Regions from separate parts of the Homo sapiens genome. Here region 2 is linked to region 1. The links are contacts of gene promoters, found by promoter capture Hi-C in blood cells and fetal thymus (Javierre and others, 2016). All regions are on one chromosome and are shown on one strand. The core of a region is centred on a gene start or on the middle of the fragment in contact, and the rest is flanking DNA. Distances in the headings are between cores, read along the strand shown.

The links. Contacts are between HindIII fragments. The CHiCAGO score rates a contact against its expected background, and 5 or more counts as called.
Region 2: a fragment that was not itself captured here is called in contact with the fragment with the promoter of PURG in region 1 in 1 of 17 cell types (fetal thymus); the score reaches 5.8 in fetal thymus.

What each region holds. Positions count from the first base shown.
Region 1 is chr8:31,031,672-31,035,404 of GRCh38, forward strand. PURG (purine rich element binding protein G) reads right to left here and starts at 1,685. Exons shown (of 2, transcript NM_001323311.2): 1 at 1,407-1,685; 2 at 1-1,117. The coding sequence starts at 1,111. The coding sequence ends at 68. It overlaps WRN (WRN RecQ like helicase), which reads left to right and starts at 2,139. Exons shown (of 35, transcript NM_000553.6): 1 at 2,139-2,302. RefSeq lists silencers at 1,667-1,716, 1,877-2,136, 3,107-3,176 and enhancers at 1,892-2,413, 3,247-3,296. The HindIII fragment of the contact is 5,494 bases long and covers 194-3,733 here.
Region 2 is chr8:30,152,373-30,156,235 of GRCh38, forward strand. DCTN6-DT (DCTN6 divergent transcript) reads right to left here. Exons shown (of 1, transcript NR_186490.1): 1 at 3,457-3,863. Among named protein-coding and RNA genes, the nearest start is that of DCTN6, 2.1 kb to the right of the region's middle. RefSeq lists enhancers at 3,088-3,297, 3,122-3,863. The HindIII fragment of the contact is 2,621 bases long and covers 1,263-3,863 here.

The DNA of each region.
Region 1 (3,733 bases), core at 435-2,934:
GATAATGGATCAGTACTTTTAGCCAATTTGTGATTTTAAATTTTGCCTGATGGAGTTCAATTTCACTCTAGTCGAGGCATTCTTGTTCTTCACCACTGGCCTTTCTGCCATCCATTCTCTTTTCTTTATGGCTGTTGCAAATTTTCCTCATCTCTTCTTCATACTTGATAAAATTCTCCCCAAACCTTGTCCAAGCTTTGAATGGAACAGTAATAGTATTACGGTAAGGTGGTCTCACCTCACTTACCTTCAGGAAAATTCCATATTTATTAGAGCCCACATCAAAGTAGAACCTTTTATTGTCCACTCTGAAAGAAGTCCCCTCTGGGAGTTCAAGCGGGTCATCGTCTCCACCTCTTCGTTCTTCTATGTCTCCTTCGCCATAGTCTTCAATCAGCTGAACCAAGGCATCACGAAACTCAATCATTCCTTGTGCTGGGAGGACAATAGTCTGTTCTTGGCCCAAACTGTGGCCAAAATAACCTATCATGCCAGTCCCCCGCATCATGGTTTGTCTAATCCGTAGGAAGCGACCCCGCTGATTTTCCTTTAGGTCTAGGTAATATTTCCTATTGTCCCTCTCGATATAGTCTGTTTTCAGGACACTGTGAGGATGCTCTTCGGACCCCACCGAGACTGGTGGGGAGGGTGCCGAGTGCTTCTGCCTCCTTCTGGAGCCTTGCTCTTTGCTGTGGCCATGCTCTTGCCGGTGGCCTTTCAGGCCCAGGTGGGCATAGTGCTCGATGAAGTCCCCTAGACAGTCCTTCAGCTCCGCTGCCACAGACAGGGAGAGGGTCAGTTTACTCTTTCTGATGTTGTCCTGCCGGCCTCTCCCTATCCAGACTTCGGCTATCTTTAGGAAGCGGCCCCGGGAGCTTTGCTTCACGTCTAGGTAAAACCTCTTTTTCTGGATGTCCACTCGTTTGGAGGCCAGCTCCTGGATTTCGGCTGCGCCCCCGGCCTGATTAGGGGTGGCTGAGGCCGCGTAGTGGGGGTAGTGGGAGTGCTGGGCCTGGGGATAGAGTCTACTCTTGCTTAGGCCAGAGCCCCCTACATTCTTGCCTCCGCGGCCGCGGCCGCCGCCGCCTCCCCTTCGCCTGGCTCTTTCCATCTTCAGCTGCAAGTAACAAACAGACACACGGGATGGGGTGGGGGAGGGGTGTTGAGAACAATCGCAGACGCCCCTCGGCCTGACCGCCCCGCCGCCGCCCGCGACCCCCACGCCGGGCCCGGCTCCCCCGGCGCCGCAGCGCGGGGCTCCAGCCACTGCCGGCCGGTTGGCGGCCGCCGCTCCGGCTCTGCCCGCGCTCCCCGCATCCCTCCGCCGCCCCCGGGGCCGCTCCCGCACGCCGCCGCCGCCCGTCCCGCGCTCCGCGGCCCCAGGTCTCCAGCCGGCGGGCACTCACATCATCTCTGCCATCACCGCCGCCGCCGATGCCCTTCACGACCACCGCCGCCGCCACCGCCAGCTCTCGGCCCCTCTGCTGCAGCCGCCGCAGCCGCCGCCCCCCGCCTCCTCCCCCGCCGCCGCCGCTCGCACTGCCCCCCGCCGGAGCAGCCGGGCAGGGGCATCGCCCGCGGCGCCCACCGCAGCCGCCCCTCCTGCGGCCGCTGCGGGGGCCGCCGCCTGACTTCGGACACCGGCCCCGCACCCGCCAGGAGGGGAGGGAAGGGGAGGCGGGGAGAGCGACGGCGGGGGGCGGGCGGTGGACCCCGCCTCCCCCGGCACAGCCTGCTGAGGGGAAGAGGGGGTCTCCGCTCTTCCTCAGTGCACTCTCTGACTGAAGCCCGGCGCGTGGGGTGCAGCGGGAGTGCGAGGGGACTGGACAGGTGGGAAGATGGGAATGAGGACCGGGCGGCGGGAATGTTCTCACTTCTCCGGATTCCACCGGGATGCAGGACTCTAGCTGCCCAGCCGCACCTGCGAAGAGACTACACTTCCCGAGGTGCTCAGCGGCAGCGAGGGCCTCCACGCATGCGCACCGCGGCGCGCTGGGCGGGGCTGGATGGGCTGTGGTGGGAGGGTTGCAGCGCCGCGAGAAAGGCGAGCCGGGCCGGGGGCGGGGAAAGGGGTGGGGCAGGAACGGGGGCGGGGACGGCGCTGGAGGGGCGGGTCGGGTAGGTCTCCCGGAGCTGATGTGTACTGTGTGCGCCGGGGAGGCGCCGGCTTGTACTCGGCAGCGCGGGAATAAAGTTTGCTGATTTGGTGTCTAGCCTGGATGCCTGGGTTGCAGGCCCTGCTTGTGGTGGCGCTCCACAGTCATCCGGCTGAAGAAGACCTGTTGGACTGGATCTTCTCGGGGTAAAGTGTCTTCCTATTCCCGTTTTCCCAGCTCCGTGCCCCGGGGTATCTATAGTGCTAGGCTTCTGAGACACGTGGAGGCGCTTAGGCCCGCGGAGCAGGCCCCTGGGCTGTGTTTGGGAGATTCTGGAAAAACAGACTTTCTCCCTTTTCCTTTCCCCTCTGGAGCAGCTGGGAAAGGCGTCTCTCGGAGCTTCCGCCATTCAGAAAGTGTTTCCCCGCCCCTGACGGCCCCAGCTTGATGTTTACCTTGCGCGCTTAGTTAGGATTGCTCTTTCTAGTACGGCCTTTATTATGGCAGAAATTGAGCCACTACAGGTCTGCACAGCAAAGTCGAGGGAAATAACCTGCTGTCTATGATTTAGCAAGTGATGATGGATATTTTTGAGTTCAAATCACTCAGTCTTTAATGGATTTTCTTTTCTTTTTTTCCTAGTTGAATCTCAGTTGTTCTCAGGCTAGGTTTGATATGAAAAATACTACTCCCTATTGAAGAGGGTAATATAATTCTTAGGATGCTAATACAGGAGTCTGTAAGTCGGAGTACTTCAGGCTTTTTATGGTTCGGTACATTTCTTTTTAGGGGTGGGATATTGGGATAAGTAGGACAGTTCAGATCTTGATGTCATTGAATAGTGGTGTCTACCTAAAAGGAAGAGGCTGGGGCACAAAATTATAATTTAAAGTGTTTACTTCAGCCAAAATGAGGACAGCTGCCCAGGACTCATTTCCCAGTTGCCTTGGGGAGTGCTCCTTCAGCCTTGGTTACAAGCAGGTTTTTAAAGGCGAAGGGGAAGAGTGGGCTGAGACAAAGTTGGTCAGGAATTGTTATTGGTTTACAGAGATACCATTGCTTAGTGATTGGCTGTACACTGTAACTCATAGGGTATGAGTTATCGTGTCCAGCATATGGCATTTTATGGCTTCTTGGTTCCAGTCTAGAGCCCATATAGCAGGTGGGCTTTAAGAGATAATTATCCAGCTCAGACCGGGAGTGAGACGGGACTGTTTTTTCATTCTAATGCCTCTCTGGGCCTGATAATTTAAAGGGGCTTGCATTCTTCAGCTAAAATTTTATTTTCTTTTATTTTTTTTCCCCCACAGTGGTCTCCCTTTATTAATCCAACAAATGTTTATTAAGGACTGCTCTAGGCACTAGAGATACCAACAATGAACAAAACAGACAAACATCTCTCTCCTTTTGGAGCTTACATTTTAGTGGAAAGAGACAGGCAAAAAGTAAAATTATAGGATGACAGAAGGTGAAAATAGAGATTAAAAAGGAAAGGGGGATGAAGAGTGTGTGTGTGTGTTGTGGGTGGGGGGCTGTAGGGAGCTGCAGTTTTACAATAAGTGGTCAGGGACGTCCTCGCTGAGAAGGGAATTTTTGAGTCCAGAGCTCAAGGAAGTGAGAGAACTTACCTTGACGTT
Region 2 (3,863 bases), core at 1,323-3,822, 880 kb before region 1:
AAAAAAAAAAAAAGTATGTGTGCATTTATTTATTTTATTATCGAGACAGGCTCTTGCTCTGTTGCCCAGGCTGGAGTGCACTGGCATGATCTTGGCTCATTGCAACTTTGACCTCCCGGACTCAAGTGATCCTCCCACCTCAGGCCCCAAGTAGCTGGGGCTACAGGCACGTGCCACCATGCCTCGCTAATTTTTGTATTTTTTGTAGAGACAGAGTTTTGCCATGTTGCCCAGGCTAGTCTCGAACTCCTAACTCAAACAATCCACCTGCCTCAGCTTCCCAAAGAACTGGGGTTACAGGCGTGAGCCACTGTGCCTGGCCTTAGCATTAATTAATTCCTACCTGTACGGTTTACATTCTGGAATCAGTACATTTTATTTTCAGGTTTCAAACAGTTCGTTGATCCCCAAAAAGCCTATAGGCCCTAGACACTGTACCTAATACTGATAAAATGATCCTTTATAAGTATGCCATAGAAGTCTTTCAAATTAATATAAATACACATTGCTTGAAAATGGATAGGTGTTTACATGGTTGGCAGTGACAAAACACTCTAAATTCATTCATATACTTATTCAACAAGTTTAGAGGAATATCAACCATGCACCAGGCACTGTGGTTGGTGCTGAGTAAAGAGTGGGAACAAAACTCACATGGCTCTAACTTCATGGAACTTAAGTCTTTGGAGGAAATGGTAAGATAAGTAAGTATAGCTGGTGATGAGTGCAATCCTTACCCCACAGAGAAAATAATTAGAATAGGAAGGGTAGCCTATTTTTGATTAGATGGTGCTATGGTCTGAATGTTTTTGTCCCTCCAGAATTCATATGTTGAAATAATACCTTCAAGGTTCTGTCCTCTCTGCCGAGCCTCACATCTGATATTTTATTGACTACTTGGCAATTAAGAGGTGGGACATTTGGGAGGTGATTAGGTGATGAGGGCTCTCATCAGACACAGAATGTCCAGCGCTTTGATCTTGGACTCCCCAGCCTCTAGGACTGTGAGCAATAAATGTCTTTGTTTATAAATAACAGTAGTCGCACTTATCCATGGTTTCATCTTCTGTGGTTTCAGTAACCTGTAGTCAACATCAGTCCAAAAATATTAAATAGAAAATTCCAGAAATAAACAATTTGTGAGTTTTAAATTGCACACCATTTTGAGTAGCATGATGAACTCTCGTACCATGCTGCTCTCTCTAGGCAAGAACATGAATCATCCCTTTGTATCCACACTGTTGGTACTACCTGCCCATTAAAGCTTTCTCAGTTATCAGATACATTGTTGCAGTATCAGAGTACTTGTGTTCAAGTCACTCTTATTTTACTTCATAATGGCCCCAAAGCACAAAAGTAGCGATGCAGGTGATTTGGATCTGCCAAAGAGAAACTGTAAAATGCTTTAAGTGAAAATGTGAAAACTTCTTGATTTCAAAAGGAAAGAAAAAAAACTATATGCTGAGGTTGCTAAGATCTATGGTAAGAATAAATCTTTTACCCATGAAACTGTTAATGAGGAAAAGGAAATGTGTGCATAGTATATAGAGGGTTCAGTATTATCTGTGGTTTCAGGCATCCACTAGAGGTCTTGGAATGTATCCCCCGAGGATAAGAAAGGACTACTATACCCAGTCTAAGGTATAACTGTCCCTCAGTATGCTTGGGGAACTGGTTCCTGGACACCCTGATGCCAAAATCTGCAGATGCTCAAGCCCCTGATATAAAATGGTGTAGTATTTGCATATAACTAACTGATGCATATCCTCCCATATCCTTTCAATCATCTTTATATTATTCAGAATATCTAATACAATTCCTACATATCACTTCATTCATGTGGCTTCAATGTAGCACTTGGCATGCAGCAAATTCAAGTTTTGCTTTTTGGAAACTTGCGTAATTTTTTCCCCCAAATTTTTGATCCAACGTGGGTTGCTGTCAACCAGTCACAGATGTCAAACCCACAGATACAAAGGGCCAACTGTATTTTGTTATAGCAGCCAGAAAGAACTAAGACAGTCAAGGAGGGTTTCCCTGAGTGTGATGGTCAGTTTTTTGTGTCAACTTGGTTAGGCTACATTCCCAAGTCATTAGTCAAACACTAATCTAGATGCTGCTGTAAAGGTATTTTTGTGGATGTGATTAAAGCCCATCATCAGTTCACTTTAAGGAAGAGAGATTATCCTAGCTAATCTGGGTGGGCCTGATTCAATCAGTTGAAGGCCATAAGAGCTGAGATGGGCTTCCCTGAAGAAATTCCTCCTGTGAACAACAGCCTCACCCCTTGCATGAGAGTTCCAGCTTAGTGTACAGATTTTGGACTTGCTTAGCTGGGGCTCCACAATCATGTAAGCCAATTCCTTACAATAAGCCTTTTGATATCCATCTACTACTAGTTCTGTTTCTCTGGTTGGAAACTGAGTATGTGACATCCGAGACATAAAGGGTCAGAAGGTGTTAGGGTGGGGGCAAGTGGAAGCGGTTGGGGGTGGAGAGTCAGCTTTGCTTTTTTGGAGAATGAGGGTGTGATCGAACACATAGAAAGAGAAAGAGAGAAGTAGGCAGGGGCTGGATGTAGCTCAGAGATAGGTTATGGAAAGCAGTTTGGATTTTAGATTTTAAGAGGAAGGGGAAATAACTGAATTTGGCTCTTATTTTTAATTTTTTTCCATTAAAAAAATACATTATAGAAAAAATATATAGAGACGGGATCATGCTGTGTTGACCAGGCTGGTCTCCAACTCCTGGCCTCAAGCGATCCTCCCATCTCGGCCCCCCAAAGTGCTGGGATTACCGGTTTGAGCCACGCGCCTGGCCTCAATTTGTCTTTTAAAGGATGATTTTGACTACAAGAGAACTACTTGGATCAGGGTTGGGGGTGGGAGATGAGGAGGTGTGATTTCAGAGGCCAAGTACAGAATGAGTGAACAACTGGGAGAGACACATCGGCTGAGATTAGAGAGATGGTCCGGTAGACAAAAGTGTAAGCATGAGACCCGAGGTAGGACAAGCAGAACTTGCAGATCTATTACAGATGTAGGGGTGAGGAGTGCCAGGGTGACTCTTGAGTGTCTGGCTTGAGCAGCTAGGCAAATGGTGTGGATCAAAAAAGCAGCAGGTTGCAGGGAGGACGGCAGTGTTAATCGAAAGTCATGTTCTGTAAGTTTTAGGTTCGATACGACTCTGAGCGGAGATGTCAATTAGTCAACCGAATGTCAGGTGTGAAGATCGGCACAGAGGGCAGAACCAGAGACATTCATTAGAGAGCAAACAGGTAGAGGGCACTTAACCTATAGGAAGGATGCACTCATATAGAGCGAGAAAAGGGCCAGAAGGAGCCCTAATGAGTAGAGAAAGACAGGCTGAAAAGGACATCGGCGAGGTCAGAGAAATACCTTTAGGGTGTAATTACGCCTACGCGAGTGGGTAAAATGAGGGCATAATGACGCGGACTGGATTGCAATAAACAGCTTTTATTCTTTTATCAGAGACACGATCTAGCTTTTTAGCCCAGGCCGGAGTGCGGTGGCATCCTCACAGCTCGCTGCAGCTTCACTGGGCTCAGGCGATCCTCTCGAGTAGCTGGGGTACAGGCGCAGGCCACCGTGACAGGCTTTTTTTTTTTTTTTTTTTTTTTTTTTTTGAAGAGAGGGTCTCACTATGTTACCCAGGCTAGTCTCGCAGTCTGGCACTCCTGGCCTCAAGCGATCCTCCTGCCTCGGCCTCTCGGCCTCCCAAAGTGCTGGCCTGTGCCCAGTCAATGGCTGTTCCAAATTAGGGTCTACCCATCTCTATGCAGGGCTAAAGTCCGCGGGCGGCCCCGCACCGCTACCAAAAGTACAGTCCTGTGCGCCCAGACG